Linked DNA regions of Homo sapiens: all the other regions are linked to region 1. The links are contacts of gene promoters, found by promoter capture Hi-C in human tissues and cell types (Jung and others, 2019). All regions are on one chromosome and are shown on one strand. Each heading gives the region's core, a stretch centred on a gene start or on the middle of the fragment in contact. The rest is flanking DNA. Distances are from core to core; before and after follow the strand shown.

Region 1 (2,551 bases), core at 39-2,538:
AGTAAATCTCCTGAGCTATAGATATATTCTGCTACACTATATGGCTTGAGGGTAATTATCCCTCACCAAATAGTAACTACTTTCTCTGTCTGCTGCTTTGCTTATATGAAGAGTCCAAAATGACTAGGCGATAAAGATTACTTTTGTTTATGCCAAAGAAATAGAGAAGCAAATACTATACTTTTTATTCACATGAAAACTTTAAAAAACCAAAAATTACCTACAGGATTACAACTGATAGAGTGATTAGCTGTCTTTGGGAATGAGTAAGAGCATATAATTGGGAGAGAATGGAATTAATTTCTATTTCCTAACATAGATGTAATGGGGACACAGATGTATTTACAATATAATACTATATCAAGTTGAAAATTAATAATTTGCATTCTTCTCAAATGAATGGTATACCTAGAAAATGTTTTAAACATGTTAGAACTCCATGATGAATCAGGCATCATCTCAACTCATCTAATTCCTTCATTAAAAAGAAATAGAGAGAGAGAGAGAAGACATGCTGCTTACTGTGCTAGTAACCGGGTTGCGACTAGAGCCACAGCACATGCTGGTTGGCCTGAATCTCAAGCATTTATGCCATAGAGAGTCCTACATTCTCATTCTGGAATCGCCACGCTCACAGACAAGTCAGAATGAATGGTCACTCAGGGCATAGATTACTTGATGCTGTCTAAATCCCAGTGGATTTATCTGCATCCACCTGCTCTCGATCTGCTCTGCCACATGGAACACACTGTGACAAACACCCTCTTCCCAAGTGATGTTCAAAGAACTGAAAGACAGGTGGTGTGGGTTGCACAGAGAGATGCCTGCTAGTCTTGAGTCAGAATTTGGTGGGTGACTAGTCTTGGGCCCAGGCATGGATTCATTTTGTCACTGTAAATATATCAGCATCATGCTTCTCCCCACAGACACTTCCCAGTCTACATACAGCCAAACATGAGGCTGGCCAGAGAGAACTTCCTGAGCCTCCCAGATCAACAGGAACTATCACATGACCAGATGATGGTCAGAACAGGAATGATGCTGATGATGAGATTGCCTTCCTTTTATCTGAAACAAAGTGTCTATGAGTAATTCACAATTAAGAAACAGATTAAACCTTAATCTGTTTAACCTTAAGGAAACAACTACCCTTTGAGAATCACAAACGGACTGGGAAAACAATGTAAACGGAAACAAGGAAAAGTCCTGCTGATTGGTGGAAACTTTGGAGGCCAGGTGTATAAAAGGTCCAGATTGCAAGGGGTCATCAGATTCTGGGAAACTCACCTCTGAACAGAAGCCCACCCTCTACCCCTGACACCATGACCCACTGTTGCTCCCCTTGCTGTCAGCCTACATGCTGCAGGACCACCTGCTGCAGGACCACCTGCTGGAAGCCCACCACTGTGACCACCTGCAGCAGCACACCCTGCTGCCAGCCCTCCTGCTGTGTTTCCAGCTGCTGCCAGCCTTGCTGCCGCCCAACTTGCTGTCAAAACACCTGCTGCCAGCCCACCTGTGTGACCAGCTGCTGCCAGCCTTCCTGCTGCAGCACACCCTGCTGCCAGCCCACCTGCTGTGGGTCCAGCTGTGACCAGAGCAGCTCCTGTGCACCTGTGTACTGCAGAAGAACCTGCTACTACCCCACAACTGTCTGCCTGCCTGGTTGCCTAAACCAGAGCTGTGGCTCCAACTGCTGCCAGCCCTGCTGCCGCCCAGCCTGCTGTGAGACCACTTGCTTCCAGCCCACCTGTGTGTCCAGCTGCTGTCAGCCTTTTTGCTGCTGATCAAGTCCCAAGAGAACCACCATCCTCACACAACAACTTTCTGCTCAACTGACTTATCTTTTGGGGGACTAATTTAATTTGCTGCTGACAGCCACCATGCTCTCACCCAAATTTTTATGAATTCTCTACCTGTTTAAAATCTTGGGAATCTACTTGAGGGAGGGCAGAATACTTCATCCTGATTCTCTTTTTCCTTACACTTTGTGGATCATGTGCCAGCTTCGTGTGTTCTCAATTTTGAGTCATGGTCTCAGCTTTGACTCAAAAGTCAAGAGCTTCATTCTCTGCTTCTAAGGAATTTAGGTTTCTGCAACTGATCAATAATCTTTGCAATCATATTTTTGTTTTCAATATCCTCCTCATGGTTCTTGTATCCTTCTTTCTTCTTTTCATAACTTTGGGTTATGTTTCTGCTACCAGCAGAGATTCTTAGCTATATGTTTCTGAATAAACTCTGAACCATCCTCATCTCATATGGTGTTTTGTTTTATATGAAAGCATTCCTGATATGAGATTTACACACATATCACATACCATAGGTATTATCCAATTTGATTCTCAAAACAGATGGTCGTGTGTTATTACCTCCATTTTTTCAGCTGAGAACAATTTAATGTGTGATGTTATGTAGCTAGTAAAGGGCAGACTCTTGTCCAAGCTGAGGTCCTCTCTTTCTGCCCAAGGACACTTACATTTAACTCTCAATATAGTAGAAATGACATTGGAAGTAAGTATTAGCAAGTCATATACTTGAGTTTTTTTAA
Region 2 (2,551 bases), core at 22-2,521, 160 kb before region 1:
GCCTGTGCTGGTAAGAAAGCTTAAAGAGAAATAATTTCATATGAGAAAGAATCTTGTATGGTAAATTTAGACCTAAAATAAAATGACTGATTGTTTAAGAAAGATGGATGTTCAAAACAAACTAGATAGTCCAAGCATATCATGAACAGTCTCTATAAGTCATAAGAGGATTTATTTTAAAAAAATACCAAAAAACTTTTATATGATTGAGTTGTCTATAATTAAAGGGAAATTATAATGGTCTTCCTGAAGATTGGGCTTCATGCTAAAAAAAACACTTATAGACTAAATAATTAGTTACAGCGATGAAATTTTCTTAAGGGATTGATTTACTCTTAATAAATTATAAGAGATTTTAATTTTTTAACCCAAAGTTCAACTATTTACTTGCTGTTTTCTCTCCCCTTCAACTTGTTTTCAGCTCATATAAGTTATTTTCCTTAAGTTCTGTTTGTTGTGGCCTGATGCTAACAATGTTTTCTAAAAGTCTAAAGGAAATGTTTTCTTCCAAAGTAATACTCTGTGCAGTGTAGAAGGTCTTTTCTTTTGCCTTTTGGTAATTGACCTAACAGATTTTATGGCTTATTGAAACAATTCCTATGCCATTATTATTAATTTTTGGTTTGCTTAGGAAAAAGAAACTGAGACAATTTTTTTAAAAAATTAACGTTATTACATCCATGTATATTTCTGTGTGCACTTTGAAAGTACCTGTGACATTGAGTTACCGGCCTTTAACTCCTGGATCTAAAAAGGAGACCAAGATCTGCTAAATCTTAAACACTGACAGCAATTAAAACCTCATCTTCAGGCCTGGTAGAAGATGCCTATCAAAATAAGCTGCATTTCTGAGACATAAGGCCATAAATCAAAGCTATTCAACTCTTCAAGACTCAGGAACAATCACAGAAGAGGTAGGCATGTGAGATTATAAGGGCTGATTTTGAGAGATAAAATAAGTTCAGTCTCTATACAAGTTAATAATTGATGTCAAAGGCACACTGATGCAATACCAGCATATGGGCCCCTGTGTCAGATTAACAAGGTTTTCTTGAAGTGTTAACTGACCCCTTAATAAAGGTTATAAAGGTTATAAAAGGCTTATGAAAGTTGTATCTTATGGTCAAGATTAAAATGTTATAGATTGTTTAAAAAATTTTGAAAAACAAATTTAATTGGCTTTATGCTGTTTTATTTGGGCTTATTGTTTGAAAAATTGACTTATTTTATGATGACCTGTCATATCAAGTGTTTTAAACCTTTGATATTTGACAAACTTTCCAAAATCAAATTACAAGTTGTGTATTTTTCTGACCTAATTAATCCTTTAAGATATTAGTTTCCCTCAAGTCCAAAAATGAAATAATTTGACTTATTTGGTATAAAAATTATACAGGAAGCATTGTCAAATATAAAATGGTGTTTGGTTTTATTTGGGCTGTATTTGTATAAAATTGTTATTGGTATGTGCACCAAAATTATGGGAAACTCCTATAATTCTGATATGACCTGGTGTACATTATCAGTAATAATTATGATTGTTATATTAAATTATTGTGTGCCATGGTGGTAACAAATTTTCTTGTCAATTGTATCTTCGCCTATGGCTGACCTAAAACTTTTTGTCACCCATGGACAATTTTTGTCTTGTTTTAGTCCTCTTTAGAAGATGGTTTTATAATCAGCTATAAAACTCTAACAGGTATTCTTGAATGCAGGTTTCTAATAACTCTGGAGATTGTGACATCACAATGAAGGAAAAGCTTTCAGGACTCATGGAGACCTGAAATGTTCATGAATAGCAAGCAGAACAGGAATTAACTGCATGAACTGAACTAACAGAAGACTGAAGTAATCTTTTTGACTTTTTGCTTAAAACATTGCTGACCCTTTATTTTGTTTTTTTCAGTCAAGGAAACTTTTCTTTTGAGCTGTTGTCAGCTTTTAACAAGTTAGTATACTCCTGTGAAAAATATTTGGAGCATATTTGTTTCTCTCTACCTGATTTTCCCTAGAATTGGAAACTATCTGTGAGTATTCTTAACTTATGGCAATACAGTTATTTGCGTAAGTGCAATAAGAATCTGTTTTCATTTGTAACAGGACACGATAAATTGGTCATTTTACCAAGGCTTTTACTTGAATGGTGTGCTCTTCTTTGAGGAATCAAACTTGACTTATGGAGCCAATAAAAGCCCCTTGGGAGAACTGGCCTCATACCTTATCTACACAGTCCCTGTACAGGGTTCCTGACCTGTGGTAAGTAAAGCATGTCACTTTCTAACAGTTCCAGGAGCCCCAAGTTTATCTTGGAACCTCAAGAGGAGAGGAATTCACCCAACTCATAGGTATTTGATGGTACAAATCCATGGCTAGGCTAAGCTTTCCAAAAGTCTTATCCGAAATTCCTTCTATGGAACAAAGTTCTGATAGGGCCAGGGGACAGAGAAATTCTAGGCAGAAAAGGATAGGTCTCTGACAAAACCCCACCTTCAAGCTGAAAAGCCTTAAACCATGGCCCAAAGTGACAACTTATATCCCTGTTTTCCTG
Region 3 (2,551 bases), core at 32-2,531, 140 kb before region 1:
TTAAAGATTATGTATAAGACAAGTTAAAAGGAACCAGGAAATCAGAGAGATGTAAAGAAAGGTATAAAAATAAAGAGGATAAAGAGGGTTCTTTTTGGTAAGGAAGCTTAAAGAGAAATAATTTCATATGAGAAAAGATCTTGTATGGTAAATTTAGACCTAAAATAAAATGATTGTTTAAGAAAGATGGATGTTCAAAACAAACCAGAAAGTCCAAGCATATCATGAACAGTCTGTAAAAGTCATAATAAGAGGATTAAAAAAAAAACCAACAAACTTTTATATGGTCAAGTTGTCTGTAATTAAAAGGAAATTATAATAGTCTTCCTGAAGATTGGGCTTCATGTAAAAAAAAAAAAGCAATGATAAACAAAATAGTTAGAGCGATGAAATTTTCTTAAGGGATTGATTTACTCTTATTAAATTATAAGAGATTTTAATTTTTTTAACCCAAAGTTCAACTGTTTACTCGCTGTTTTCTCTCCCCTTCAACTCGTTTGCAGCTCATATAAGTTATTTTCCTTAAATTCTATTTGTTATGGTCTGATGCTAACAATGTTTTCTAAAAGTCTAAAGAAAATGTTTTCTTCCAAAGTAATATTCTGTGCAGTGTAGAAGGTCTTTTCTTTTGCCTTTGGGTAATTGACCTAACAGATTTTATGGCTTATTGAAACAATGCTATGCTGTTATTATTAATTTTTGATTTGCTCAGGAAAAAGTATCTGAGATAATTTTTTAAAATTAAGGTTATTACATCCATGTATATTTCTGTAGGTGCTTTGAAAGTACCTGTGACATTAAGTTACAGGCCTTTGACTCCTGGGTCTAAAAAGGACACCAAGGTCTGCTAAATCTTAAGCACTGACAGCAATTAAAACCTCATCTTCAGGCCTGGTAGAAGATGCCAATCAAAATAAACTGCATTCCTGAGACATAAGGCCAGAAGTAAAAGCTATTCAACTCCTCAAGGCTCAGGAACTACCACAGAAGAGGTAGGCATGTGAGATTGTAAGGGCTGATTTTGAGAGACAAAATAAGTTCAGTTTCTCTGCAAGTTAATAATTGATGTCAAAGGCACACTGATGCAATACCAGCATACGGGCCCCTGCGTCAGATTAAAAAGGTTTTCTTGAAGTGTTAACCGACCCCTTAATAAAGGTTATAAAGGTTAAAAAAGGCTTATGGAAGCTGTATCTTATGGTCAAGATTAAAATTTTAAAGATTGATAATAAAATTTCAAAAAACAAATTTAATTGGCTTTATGCTGTTTTATTTGGGCTTAATGTTTGAAAAATTGACTTATTTTATGATGACCTATCAAGTATTTTAAACTTTTGATATTTGGCAAAGTTTCCAGAATCAAATTACAAGTTGTGTATTTTTCTGACCTAATTAATCCTCTAAGATATTAGTTTCCCTAAAGTCCAAAAATGAAATAAATGACTTATTTGGTATAAAAATTATACAGGAAGCATTGTCAAATATAAAATGGTGTTTGGTTTTCTTTGGGCTGTATTTGTATAAAAATGTTATTGGTATGTGCACCAAAATTATGGGAAACTCCTATAATTCTGATATGACATGGTGTACAATATCACTAATAATTATAATTGTTATATAAAATTATCGTGTGCCACAGTGGTAACAAATTTTCTTGTCAATTGTGTCTTTGATTATGGCTGACCTAAAACTTTTTGTCACCCATGGACAATTGTTTTGTTTTAGTCCTTTTTAGAAGATGGTTTTATAATCAGCTATAAAACTCTAACACGTGTTCTTGAAGGCAAGTTTCTAATAACTTTGGAGACTGTGACATCAGAATGGAGGAAAAGCTTTCAGAACTCATGGAGACCTGAAATGTTCATGAATAGCAAGCAGAACAGGAATTAACTGCATGAACTGAACTAATAGAAGAGCAACGTAATCTTTTTGACTTTTTGCTTAAAATGTTGCTGCTCCTTGTTTTCCTTTTTTTAGTCAAGGAAACTTTTATTTGAGCTGTTGTCAGCTTTTAACAAGTTAGTATACTCCTGTGAAAAATATTTGGAGCATATTTGTTTCTCTCTACCTGATTTTCCCCAGAATTGGAAACTATCTGTGAGTATTCTTAACTTATGGCAATACAGTTATTTGCATAAGTGCAATAATAATCTGTTTTCATGTGTAACAAGACACAATTGGAGAAATTGGTCATTTTACCAAGGCTTTGACTGGAATGGTGTGCTCTCCTTTAAGGAATCAAATTTGACTTATGGAGCCAATAAAAGCCCCTTGGGAGAACTGGCCTCATACCTTATCTACACAGTCCCTGTACAGGGTTCCTGACCTGTGGTAAGTAAAGCATGTCACTTTCTAACAGTTCCAGGAGCCCCAAGTTTATCTTGGAACCTCAAGAGCAGAGGAATTCATGCAACTCATAGGTATTTGATGGTACAAATCCATGGCTAGGCTAAGCTTTCCAAAAGTCTTATCCGAAATTCCTTCTATGGAACAAAGTTCTGATAGGGACAGGGGGCTGAGAAATTCTAGGCAGAAAAGGGTAGGTCTCTGA

Evidence for each region. The method cuts DNA at HindIII sites, captures the fragments that hold promoters and counts their contacts. A contact is called where the count stands out against the background at its distance.
Region 2: a fragment that was not itself captured here is called in contact with the fragment with the promoter of KRTAP9-4 in region 1 in 3 of the 25 tissues and cell types used here (IMR-90 fibroblasts, mesenchymal stem cells and spleen).
Region 3: a contact is called between a fragment that was not itself captured here and the fragment with the promoter of KRTAP9-4 in region 1, in 4 of the 25 tissues and cell types used here (H1 embryonic stem cells, adrenal gland, dorsolateral prefrontal cortex and 1 more).

The regions. Positions count from the first base shown.
Region 1 is chr17:41,248,399-41,250,949 of GRCh38, forward strand. It overlaps KRTAP9-4 (keratin associated protein 9-4), which reads left to right and starts at 1,289. Exons shown (of 1, transcript NM_033191.3): 1 at 1,289-2,255. The coding sequence starts at 1,323. The coding sequence ends at 1,787. RefSeq lists an enhancer at 1,016-1,570. The HindIII fragment of the contact is 7,447 bases long and covers 1-2,551 here.
Region 2 is chr17:41,091,200-41,093,750 of GRCh38, forward strand. No RefSeq gene overlaps it. Among named protein-coding and RNA genes, the nearest start is that of KRTAP4-8, 5.7 kb to the right of the region's middle. The HindIII fragment of the contact is 6,382 bases long and covers 1-2,551 here.
Region 3 is chr17:41,111,423-41,113,973 of GRCh38, forward strand. LOC124904002 (a long non-coding RNA gene) reads left to right here. Exons shown (of 2, transcript XR_007065754.1): 2 at 1-1,248. Among named protein-coding and RNA genes, the nearest start is that of KRTAP4-11, 5.7 kb to the right of the region's middle. The HindIII fragment of the contact is 6,500 bases long and covers 1-2,551 here.